3 separate regions of the Homo sapiens genome follow, and regions 1 and 2 are each linked to region 3. Evidence: promoter capture Hi-C in human tissues and cell types (Jung and others, 2019). All regions are on one chromosome and are shown on one strand. The core of a region is centred on a gene start or on the middle of the fragment in contact, and the rest is flanking DNA. Distances in the headings are between cores, read along the strand shown. Region 1 overlaps FBN3 (fibrillin 3). Region 2 overlaps FBN3 (fibrillin 3). Region 3 holds the start of CTXN1 (cortexin 1).

The links. Contacts are between HindIII fragments. The study calls those that stand out against the background at their distance.
Region 1: a fragment that was not itself captured here is called in contact with the fragment with the promoter of CTXN1 in region 3 in 2 of the 25 tissues and cell types used here (adrenal gland and mesendoderm cells).
Region 2: a contact is called between a fragment that was not itself captured here and the fragment with the promoter of CTXN1 in region 3, in 1 of the 25 tissues and cell types used here (bladder).

The regions. Positions count from the first base shown.
Region 1 is chr19:8,105,885-8,109,890 of GRCh38, reverse strand. It overlaps FBN3 (fibrillin 3), which reads left to right. Exons shown (of 64, transcript NM_032447.5): 35 at 138-260; 36 at 503-664; 37 at 1,653-1,721; 38 at 3,658-3,783. Among named protein-coding and RNA genes, the nearest start is that of FBN3, 42 kb to the left of the region's middle. The HindIII fragment of the contact is 6,298 bases long and covers 1-4,006 here.
Region 2 is chr19:8,072,736-8,076,627 of GRCh38, reverse strand. It overlaps FBN3 (fibrillin 3), which reads left to right. Exons shown (of 64, transcript NM_032447.5): 60 at 1,217-1,345; 61 at 1,438-1,557; 62 at 3,331-3,565. Among named protein-coding and RNA genes, the nearest start is that of CCL25, 22 kb to the right of the region's middle. The HindIII fragment of the contact is 4,880 bases long and covers 1-3,892 here.
Region 3 is chr19:7,923,344-7,927,411 of GRCh38, reverse strand. It overlaps CTXN1 (cortexin 1), which reads left to right and starts at 1,277. Exons shown (of 2, transcript NM_206833.4): 1 at 1,277-1,445; 2 at 1,854-2,921. The coding sequence starts at 1,874. The coding sequence ends at 2,122. It overlaps TIMM44 (translocase of inner mitochondrial membrane 44), which reads left to right. Exons shown (of 13, transcript NM_006351.4): 13 at 106-694. The coding sequence ends at 225. It overlaps LOC124904629 (a long non-coding RNA gene), which reads right to left and starts at 2,007. Exons shown (of 2, transcript XR_007067120.1): 1 at 1,576-2,007; 2 at 602-839. RefSeq lists an enhancer at 1-596 and silencers at 1,093-1,362, 1,893-1,982. The HindIII fragment of the contact is 9,564 bases long and covers 1-4,068 here.

The DNA of each region.
Region 1 (4,006 bases), core at 237-2,736, 180 kb before region 3:
AAGGACATGACATTGTCCCACAATCTGGTGCCCAGGAGTTGACCTTGAGCGAGGGCTGTAGCTTCCCAGGATGAAGCTAGGAGGGAGGGGGGCCGAGGAAGGGGCTCCCTGCTGAGGACCGCGCTTCCTCCCTACAGACATCAACGAGTGTGCAGACCCAGTAAACTGCATCAACGGCGTGTGCATTAACACCCCCGGCAGCTACCTCTGCAGCTGCCCCCAGGATTTTGAGCTGAACCCCAGCGGAGTGGGCTGCGTGGGTGAGTCCATGCTCAACTCCAGATCAGGGTTCTGGGGTCAGCAGAGGTGGGTGGGATTGCCCCACTGGGTTAACTCAGATGTCAACGTGTTCAAATCTACCTGCTCCTGACAAACGGGACATCTGCTGGTCTCCTGCAAGAGTGGTTGTCCTTGTCACCTGTTGAAATAGACACATGCATGCACACGCACACATACAGCTTTCCCTCTGACACCTACTAACCATCCCCTTCTGCCTGTTCAGACACTCGGGCCGGGAACTGTTTCCTGGAGACGCATGACCGAGGGGACAGTGGCATTTCCTGCAGTGCCGAGATCGGAGTTGGTGTCACCCGAGCTTCCTGCTGTTGCTCCCTGGGCCGGGCTTGGGGCAATCCCTGTGAGCTGTGCCCTATGGCCAACACCAGTGAGTCCCTGCGGGGCAGTTGAACACCGTGACCTAAGCCACCGAGGCCCGGGAGCTTAGGGGGTCACCTCTGCTAATGGCGGTGGTGGGGGGCTTAGGCGACAGGAAAACCAAGAACTGGGGGAGGAGAGGGGCTCATCCTGGGTCACACAGTGTACGTCTTGGTAGTTCATTGGCTGGGCCTCTCTCCAAGGTCGCTTTCTGTAAATTCTCTGTGTTTATAGTCACTTGATCACTCAGTCAGTCAACAAATATTGAGAGTTCCTCTGTGTCATGTGCTGGGGACTGGGGACTCAGAGAAGGATGAGCCACAGCCTCTGCACGCTGCTTCTCCCTCACCCTTAAATCAACAGTTTCAGGACTGTGAGAGTAGAACTGTCCTAAGGGTTTTCTTTGAGGCATACCCATAGCTCAGGAGAAAGCTGTGGGGAAGTGAAAGCTCTGGGGAAGGCTTTCCAGGGGAGGAGGCTTGAGTGAGGTTTTGAAGGATGTGTAGGAGTTTTCCTAGCAGAGTAGGGGGAATGATGTGCAATGCAGTGAGAACAGTATGTGCAAAGGCCTCAGGTGTGAAACAGGGAGGTACCTGTCCACCTATTCAGGTGTATGCGTGTGTGAATGTCCAAGGTCTTCCTTGCATGGGGAAAACTTGCAGTTACACTAGGATATGGTTTTGGATCAGAAGGAATAATCTTCTCTCCCTCCTACCCCCAGCCACTACCACATAACTCTGCTCACATGTTGAATGGGAACCCACATTTACACACACACACGCATGCACACGCACATGCACACACACACGCAAGCAGCCCCAGGACTGGCCAAAGTCTCTTGGCCCCAAGAGGCTAAAGAGATATGGGGATGTCGTTAGTACAGTAGAAGGATGGGAGCCCACTCTTGAGCCCTTTTCAGGCTTCCTGCTGTTGCTCCCCTGTTTCCCCTAAGCTTTGCCCCAATACCCCACCTCACAGGAGCCTGTTTCCCTTTACAGCTGAGTACAGAACCCTGTGCCCGGGTGGTGAGGGCTTCCAGCCTAACCGCATCACTGTCATTCTGGAAGGTGAGTTCCTGGCAGATCATCCATCCATCTGTCTGCCTAGAGACTGACTTTTCTCTCATCCCCACCTCACCAAAGTGTAGAGTTGAGTAGTTTTGTCCTGGGATGGGGCAGATCTTTCCACCTGGAGGCTGAGCAGCAGGACCACACTATGCTTTTAGTTTGTGTTTAATTTTTTTTATCTGTTCTTTCAGCCATTTCTTCCACTTGTTGGTTTATTGATCTTTTCATTTGTCCCCCATCCTTCCATTCATCCTCCATCCTTCTGTCCATTTATCCTTCCATCCACCCATCCTTCCATCCATTCATCCATCCTTCTACCCATCCATCCAGCCATTCATCCATCTATCCATCCATCCATCCATCCTTCCATTTTTTCCATCCATCCAGTACATCCATACATCCTTCCATCCAGCCATCCTCCATCCATTCTTCCTTCCATACTTCCATACTTCCATTCAACCATCCTCCATCTACCCATTCATCCATCCTCCACTCATCCCTCTCTTATCCTTTTATCCATCCATCTAGTCAACCATTCATTCCCCATCCTTCATCTATCCCCCATCTTTCTGTCCATTCATCCCTCCATCCATCCATCCATCCATCCATCCTTCCACCCGACCATCCATCCATTCATCCATCCTTCCACTCATCCTTCCATCCATTCATCCATCCATCCATCCATCCATCCATCCTTCCACTCGACCATCCATCCATTCATCTATCCTTCCACTCATCCTTTCATCCATTCATCCTTCCACCCATCCAACCATTCTCCATCTACCCATTCATCCATCCCCCCACTTATTCCCCTCCTATCCTTCTATCCATCCATTCACCCATTTATCCCCCATCCTTCATCTATCCTCCATCCTTTCATCCATCCCCCCTCCTTCTGTCCATTTATCCTTCCATCCACCCATCCTTCCATCCATCCATCCTTCCACCCAACCATCCCCCATCTACCCATTCATCTATCCTTCCTTCCATCCAACTATCCTTTATCTACCCATTCATCCATCCTTCCATTCATCCATCCTTCCATCCATCCCTCCATCCTTCCATCCAACCATGCCCCATCCACCCATTCATCCATTCATCACTCATCCCTCTGCTATCCTTGTATCCATCCATTCACCCATCCATCCACCCCCCATCCTTCATCTAGCCCGCATTCACCCATCCATTAACCTATTTCCCACTCTCCCATCCATCCATCTCCCACCCACCTATCTCTCATTCTTCTATCCATCTATTCACCCATCCATCTATCCCCCATTCACCCATCCATCCTCAATACATCCATCCATCCACTCATCCATCCACCCATTTCCCATCCACCCGTTCCCTACTCCCTTTCTATTCCCCCATTCATCCACCCTTCCATCCATCTTCTATCTCCCATCTATTCATCCATTCATCCATCCATCCATCCATCCACTTATCCACCCATTCACTCATTTGCCTGTCTACTCACCTATCCATCCACCTTCCTATCCATCCACTCACTCATCATCTTATTCATTGACCCACTTGCTTATTTACCCATCCACTGTTTCATATCCATGCATCCATCCACTCATCCATCCATTCATCCATCCTCCCATCCATCCTTTCTATAGGGAGTGACAAGGTTGGAGAAGACTATTCTCCATCTAGAGGAAGAAAACTATCTATTTCTCTATCTAGAGGAAACTATGTGGTGGATGGGAGAATGGACTAACAGATGAAGGGAATGGAGTTGAATTTAGGGTAACATTAACTCAAGAGAATCTGTGTCCAGCCATCAAGATAGACCCTTTAAATGTCTATCAGTCATGGACAGCACTTGGGGATCCTCGAGAGGGCCCTGGAGAACCCAGAGCATGGTGTGGGTGCCCCTTAAGTCCTCTGCATGGGTTTAGCTCCCAAGCTTGGCTTCCTTACTTCCTGACAGACATCGACGAGTGCCAAGAGCTGCCAGGGCTGTGTCAGGGGGGTGACTGCGTCAACACGTTTGGCAGTTTCCAGTGTGAGTGCCCACCTGGCTACCACCTCAGTGAGCACACCCGCATCTGTGAGGGTGAGCATGGATTCTCTTTGGGGTGGGTCAGGCTCTTCCGCTCTCTCCCTGCCTTCCTGCCCTGCCAAGCCTCACAAGGGTAGAGGAGGGAAGGCCTCATGGAAAGGCTTCTGCCCCCTGCCTCCTCTTTTGTCATGATCTGTCAGTTCTCTCTTGCTGCCTTTAAGATGTTCATGGCTGCTGTGGATCTGTGGTGTGGGGGATGGTAGATAGACCCTTTAAA
Region 2 (3,892 bases), core at 933-3,432, 150 kb before region 3:
TCTGTCAGTCACCCAGACTGGAGTGCAGTGGAACAATCTTGGCTCATCGCAACCTCCGCCTCCCGGGTTCAAGCGATTCTTCTGCCTCAGCCTCCCGAGTAGCTGGGACTACAGGCGTGTACCACCACACCTGGCTAAATTGTTTTGTATTTTTAGTAGAGATGGGGCTTCACCATGTTGGTCAGGCTGATCTCGAACTCCTGACTTCAGGTGATCCGGAGGCTCCCTAGGCCTCCCAAAGCACTGGGATTACAGGCATGAGCCACTGTACCCAGCCCCCAAGAATAGTAAGAATATTTAAAGACATAGAAAGATGATCACAGACTATTCAGTTTAAAACAATAGCTTACACACACACACACACACACACACACACACACGCACACGGACAACCCATACACTGGTTGGCTTAAACTACAGAGATTTATTTTTTTTTCCATTCTGGAAGCTGGGCAGTTCAAGATCAAGGTGGCAGCACGGCTGGTTCTGTGAGGGCTCTCTTCTTGGTTTGCAGACAGCCACCTTTTTGCTGTGTCCTCACTTGGCAGAGACAGAGCAAGCTTTCTGGTGTCTCTTATAAGGGCACTATTCTCATCATAAAAGCCCTACCCTCATGACCTTATCTAACCCTGATCACCTCCCAAAGACCTAATATCCAAATACCAGCCCACTGGGGGTTAGGGCTTCAACATAGGATTTTGGAGAGACACGAACATTCAATCCATGGCACCGGCTGACCTCACACTATTGTCAGGTTTCCATGGGAACAAAACTCAACAGGCAACCCTATGTCATTTTTCCATGGGAGAAGGAAAAGAGGCTTTGTTTATCTTTTACTCTTTTACCGGGCACTGCCCTAAGCCTTTTACATGATTAGGTTAATTTAATTCTCGCATGCACACAAAAATGCAATGAGGTAGACATTATCATCTCCATATACAGCTGAGGACATCGAGGCACAGAGAGGGTAGGTAAGTTGCCCAAGGACACACAGCTTCGAGGCGGTGGAGATGAGATTCTTTATGTGCAGGATCTCAAACATTGGTGCCTATTCTGAGTCAGGAACTGTTACAGATCTCATTTCACAGAGTGGGAAACAGGCACAGAGAGGGTGAGCAACTTGCCTGAAGCCACACAGTGGTGGGACTGGCATTGTGTCACCTGACACGAGTTCCTTAACCAGCAGGCAACCCTGCCTGATCTCTCTCCTCTGCAGACAATGATGAGTGCTCAGCCCAGCCTGGCCCATGTGGTGCCCACGGGCACTGCCACAACACCCCGGGCAGCTTCCGCTGTGAATGCCACCAAGGCTTCACCCTGGTCAGCTCAGGCCATGGCTGTGAAGGTACAGCCCAGCTTTGGCTGGGGTCTAGTGTTTGGGGGTGTTGGTCCTGAGAGCCGTCTGGTAAACCCTCTCTCCCTCTCTCTATGTCTCAGATGTGAATGAATGTGATGGGCCCCACCGCTGCCAGCATGGCTGTCAGAACCAGCTAGGGGGCTACCGCTGCAGCTGCCCCCAGGGTTTCACCCAGCACTCCCAGTGGGCCCAGTGTGTGGGTGAGTGAAAAGGGCTGGGAAGAAGCTGGGCCCTCCACCAGAATCTGCTCAGAGCAGGCGACTAACAGACGCCACCCTGCAAGATGATGTGACAAGCACAATTATCTAAAGATTGAACAGGCCAGCCCAGAAGGTAGTGAGTTCCCCACTGCTGGGGAGTCAAGGTGCAGCAGAATAAGCATCAAAAAGTGTCTGAGTTCATTCCTTAGGGCATGGTGGCCTGGAGGACTCAGTTGAGAAAGATTCTGAGACCTGAAGTCTGCAATTTTGTGATCACAGGGAAAGAGTGCTGTGATTGATTAGTGATGTCTGCCACGAGTGTGATTAGTGATGTCTGCTATGGATGCTGCAAGGGGCAATGGAGGTGTGCATGCTATGTCATTGCCATAGCTGTTGCAGAGGCCCTCCATTTGGGGGGCTAGCCTTCTGCCCCCCAACCTTCCCCCATCTTCTGGCTGCTCTAGGACCTCCTAGCAGCCTCTTTCACTGCTCTTTTCATTCCTCCACTGCAGTGCAGCTTTCACCCTCTACCATTTTCAGGCCCACTTGCTCTCTCCTGAGACCTCTCCTCGGCCTCCATCCTCTACCTCCACTGCTCTGGGCACCACAGTCTGCCCCTTCAGGCTCCTGGACACTCTCTCCTGTGGCCTTTGTGATGTGGCTATCCCTGCTCTCCCACTGCCTCACAGGCACTGCCTTCTCTGCCCCCTCCTTTTGTCTGTCATGGTGGGTCTTTAGCTAAGTTCTTCTTGGGCTTCCCACACCACACGACCCCACCCCCCAGGCAAGCTGCTTGTCCCCTGGGGATCTTGGGGATCCCACAGACCATTGGCCTTTGCTGGCAACTCTTCCTCAACTTGTTTCCTCCCCCCGTACTGACTCATTCATTCTTTCCCCAACTGTTTGCCAAGGACCTGCCTTTCACTAGGCCCTGAGCTCAGATGCAGAAGTGAGCTGAAAAACCATTTCTGCCTTGAGTTTTTCAGTCCAGCAAAGGAAACAGAGATTAATTAGACCCCTAACTAGGTTCTCAACAGAGGACCATTTTACCCCCATAGTACATTTTGAAGTGTCTGCGAGACATTTTTGATCATCACAATTGGGATCCGCCATGGTAGTTCACTCTTGTGGGATATTGAGGTAGGGGGATCATTTGAGGCCAGGAGTTCAAGACCAGCCTAGGCAACATAGCAAGACCCCCCATCTCTACAAAAAGTTAAAAGATTAGCCAGGCATGTTGGTGCACACCTGTAGTCCCAGCTACTCAGGAGGCTGAGGCAGGAGGATCCCTTGAGCCCAGGACGTCAAGGCTGCAGTGCACTATGGTTGCACCACTGCACTCCAGCCTGGGCAACAGAGTGAGACTCCCAACTCCAAACAGACAATTGGAGGCGGATAGGTTTTCCTGGTGTCAAGCGGGTGGAAGCCAGGGATGCTGTTCAATGTCCCACAGTGCAAGGAGGCCTCCTCCCTAGAGAATGATCTGGCCCCAAGTGTCAATAGCACTGAGGGTGAGAAAGCTTGTTCTAGATCATCCCACATTTTGGGGTTTAGGGGAAGTGTTGAGAGATGTTGTGAAGGAGAACCACAGGGTTTGGGGCAGCGGGGCTATGGGGCCGATCTAGTCTCAGGGCTCACTGCCAGCTTGCTGAAGAGTTTGGCATTGGACTTGGGCTCTGAACATACAGCATTCCAGGTGGAGGGCTCTGGGGGTGTGAAGGCTGCACTGCCCCACCTCTGCGTCCTCCCTCTCCTCCTCCTTTCCTCCCACAGATGAGAATGAGTGTGCCCTGTCGCCCCCCACCTGCGGGAGCGCCTCCTGTCGCAACACTCTTGGTGGCTTCCGCTGCGTCTGCCCCTCTGGCTTTGACTTTGATCAGGCCCTCGGGGGCTGCCAGGAGGTGGATGAGTGCGCCGGACGGCGTGGCCCCTGTAGCTACAGCTGTGCCAACACGCCTGGTGGCTTCCTGTGCGGCTGTCCTCAAGGCTACTTCCGGGCTGGGCAAGGGTGAGAGGCTGGAGTGGGGCAAGCAGACTCCATGCCCCGCAAGCGTCCATGCACGCACGCACACACACACACACACACACACACACACACACACACGGGGCTTTGTGCATGCCAAGAATTTACCAGAAGAGCTCCTTCAGCCTGTGCATGCAGGCATTTGCCCACATATGCACAGAGTCCTGGACACGCAGAGGTACAGTGGCACCTGTATCTATTCACACACATCCTCACAGCACTCACATGTAGTTGTCCACATGGCACACACCCGTACCAGCATGCGTGGGCACCCTTGTGCATTTACAGATCCCAGCATGCACACGTGTGTGT
Region 3 (4,068 bases), core at 28-2,527:
GGGGAAGTTGCCGGTGGCTCCTGCCCCACAGAGCCTGGCCCCCCCCCAGAGCTGCCTGGGTCACCTCAACCCTCTCAACAGTGCCCTTCCCACCCCACCCTGCAGGACAAGGTGCTGCGGATGCTGTACGTGTGGGCGCTCTGCCGAGACCAGGACGAGCTCAACCCCTACGCGGCCTGGCGGCTCCTGGACATCTCGGCCTCCAGCACCGAGCAGATTCTCTGAGTGTGGTGCCGGAGCCAGGTAGCCCCGGCCTGGGTCATCAGGCACAGAGGCACCGCAACACCACCTGCGGCAACTCCAGACCTCTGGGAACAAGACTGCGGGCTCTGCCCCCAGCTCTGCCAGGACGGCTGCAAGACCAGCTGGCCCGGGAGGGGACAACGGGCTGTTGCGGGTGCGCGGCAGCTGGAGACACTCCCCCGCAGGGCCAACCCCTGCCCTGTTGCTCTGCCCTGCAGGGGTCCCGGCGCCTGGTCACCTGGGGTGCACACAGGTCACACAGTGCCAAGAGGCCCCAGGGCCCAGGGACTCCCCCCACAGCAGGGTGGGACCCGGGACCCGCGGCTCAGTGGCCCGCTAGCCACGTCAGCCAAGCCACTTTAGGTCCATTTTTTAATTTTAACAGTGCTCTTCCATCTTGTGCATAAGCCTGAGATTTGGAAAGAATAAAACACCGAATTGCAGAAGAGCAGCTACGGAGTCTGAAGTGTCTTCTCTGGCGCGGGAGTGGCCGAGGCGATGGTGGGGGTGGGAGCAGGCGGCTGCTGTGGGAGGCGGTCAAGGTCGAGTGAGGAACTGCAGCCGCAGTGGGTGGACGCCTTGCCCAGGGCTGGACCCTGAGTTGGAAGACGAGGCCAGTGACAGACAAAACTAGGGGGACTTACTCATCCCAGTGACCTGCCTGAGCTCTCTGAGAATTGAGGTCCCCAGGGCCGGGGGAGCTTGAGTGCCCATATGAGTGTTTTAGGGCCACTGAGGTCCCCCCACAAACAGGGAGTCTCGAGTGGGGTCTATCGCGGAGGAGAATGCAGGCACAGGGCAGGCTGGGGGGCCCGAAGTGCCAGGGGAGGTGGGAGTGGCAGCTGCCCACTCCCCGGCGAGGTCGTGGGTGCTCGCGGGTCCTCGGGGCTGGGGTTCCGTCCTCCCGCAGGCCCGGGCGGGGTCGCTGGCTCGCGCGCCGCTCCCTGCGCAGCCTCCGCCCCCTGCAGCCCCGCCCCCCGCGGCGGCCCCGCCCCCGTCGCCATAGGAACAGCCGCGGCGGCCCGGCTCGCGCGCTGCTTGCCTGCCTCGGTCTCCGCCGCTCCAGGGGCGGGTGGGGTGGGCTGAGCCGGAGCCCGGGCCGCCGCCGCCGCCGCCGGGGAGAGGCCGAACGCGCAGCCGGCGCGGGTCCCTGAGAGAGCGCGGCCGCCGGGCGGTCGGTCCCCGTCCGGGTCGAAGCCAGGGTGAGGGGCGCGCCGGGGCGGGGGCGGTGGGGGAGGGGGTCCCAGGCCGCCGAGAACAAAGGGAGCGGGGGCAGGGGCCGCGGGGACCGTCCCCACGCCGCGCGCCCGGGCCGCGGCCGCGCTTTCGCACCTGTTGTGTGCGGCCCAGGCCGGGCGCGGCTCCGTTTCCCGGCTCTCAGCGCCCCCACCTGCGCGCACGGCCAGAGTTGGGTCCCCGCGTGGTGGTGGCGGCGATCCGGCGGGCCGGGCATGGGCGTAGCCCGGGGACCGAGGCGCGGGCGGGGGATGGGGTCGGGCACGTTAAGGGAGGCGGCGGCGGCGGCGGCAGGAGGGGGCGAAGCGGAGGAGGCGCGGGAGGGAGGGCGCAGCCTCATCCCCGGCGCCCGGGGCGGGTCCCCTCCTCCGCAGGGCGCGCGGCGATGTGAGCCATGAGCGCGACGTGGACGCTGTCGCCGGAGCCCCTGCCGCCGTCGACGGGGCCCCCGGTGGGCGCGGGCCTGGACGCGGAGCAGCGCACGGTGTTCGCCTTCGTGCTCTGCCTGCTCGTGGTGCTGGTGCTGTTGATGGTGCGCTGCGTGCGCATCCTGCTCGACCCCTACAGCCGCATGCCCGCCTCGTCCTGGACCGACCACAAGGAGGCGCTCGAGCGCGGGCAGTTCGACTACGCGTTGGTGTGAGGGGCGCGGCGCCCCCTAGCCGGCCCTGCGCCGGGGTCTCAGAGGGCCGGCCCGGCGGGGGGCGCCGCGGGGCCAGGACTGCGCTCAGGATCCCGCCCCGGAGCCCCCAGCCCGGGGGAGAGGGGGAGGGAGTTGGGAGAAGCCCAGCCCCTCCCCCTCGAGACCCCTCCCATGTCCCTTCCTGGCCTGGCCGGAGCCCCACCTCGTGCCTTTATCCGCCCTGTCCCTTCCTCTCTGCGCATCTCACCCGCCCGGCTGGCCCCCACCCCCGACTCTGAATCCCGGGCGGGAGGAGGACCCCCGCACCGCCCCCTCCCCAGCGTGTAAGTGGCTCTGCTATTGTGCGTCCCTGGAAGTGGGGACCCCCTTGTCCCTCCTCCCTCCCCTGTTGTCTGGCCGTCGTCAACCCCACCTTGACTGAGTGTTGAGCCCGTCCTTGGGCTCTGGTCCCTGCGGGGCAGGCTCTCCCGGGCCCACGGGGCGGACGCTGCATACCAATTTGCCCTGCACCGCCTGTCCCGGAGACGGAGCCCGAAGGCCTGCCATGGCGGCTGTGTCGAGGATGCGTGGCGCCTGCCGTGGCGGGACAGCGTGGGCAGGCTCATTTCTGCCCCCAACCCGGGCCCCAGGACAGGTCAGCGCGCCCTGCCCCGGTGCCCACCGCTGCCCCCCATCCGCCCTCCTGCCACTTGCCCCTGACCCCCCTGCCGTGCCTCCCGCAGCCCTCCCATGCCGTTCCACTCCTCCCTGCCTCTGAGCCGAACATGATAATAAAAGCTATTATTGAGCGCTTACTGCATGCCAAGTAGCGTGCTGAGTTGGCACCTCCTGTTTATAGCCTGTCTCCTCTTCGGGATCGTGAGAATGAGCCAGGCCCTGTTAGCATCCCTATTCTACAGGCCAGGAGACCGAGGGCCAGGCAGCTCCAGTGACTGACTTGCCCACAGTCACATGGCTAGAGTCTGGTAGGGCTGGAAGTGGAACCCAGGTCTGGCTTTTGCATGTTTTTAAAGCTTCCCAGGGCTGCAAAGACACCAAGATCACAAGCACCTTTCACCGGCTTTGGGGGGGGGGGCTGATGTGTAACCCCCAGCTGCCTCCCCTCCACACACAATTCTGTTGATCTGGGGAGGCGCCGGGGGTGGTGAGAGAGACTCAGCCCTGTGGGGAACTGGGAGGCGCACCCTCTGCCAGCCCTGGAGGGAGGCTCCGACGACCGACCGTACCTGCAGCCTAAGCCTCCTCCCCCTGCCCACCACCATTGGCAGCGTTTGTGGGTCTGGTGCGGTGGGGCGGTGACCACGGACGGAGTGGGCTGGCTGTGCTCCAAGGCCCTCCCAAGAGATGTGCACCCCAGGGGAGCCGTGTGCAGTGTGTGGGGGGAGGAATGAGCGTTTCTATAAAAGGCAGGCTGGGTGAATGCACAGGCTCCGAGAACGGAGAATTTACCGACTTGGATTACTAGCTGGGCGTGGGACGCGGTGCCGTGGGAGGACATCTGCTTCCCTCTCTAGGACCCGACCCTCGGTCCACACCCACAGGGCAGGTGAAGCTGATGGAGGGGGCCTCAAGCGGGGTCCCAGCACCCCCAGGGGTTTGGGGTCAGCCCTGACTCCAGTACCCCTCCCTCCCCGCCTTCTAGGGATCCTTGAGGTCCCAAAGCCACCCCAGGGGACACTCCACTCCCACTAGCCTCCTGCCACTCGGGGCAGCCCACCCCTATCTATCTTCCTCTAACCGCCCAGCCTGGGGCTCAACTCCTTCCACCGGGTCACCCCCACTCTCTGCTGCCTTCTCCCCTCCACCTGTGCGATGTGATTTTGCCCTACTCTGAAACCCATCCCTGACGCCTGTCCCCAAGGTGCCCTGCCGGCTCTCCCCATCCACACTTGTCAGCTTCACAGTCACCAAGGGGCTCCTCACCCCAGGCCTCATCACACCAGTCA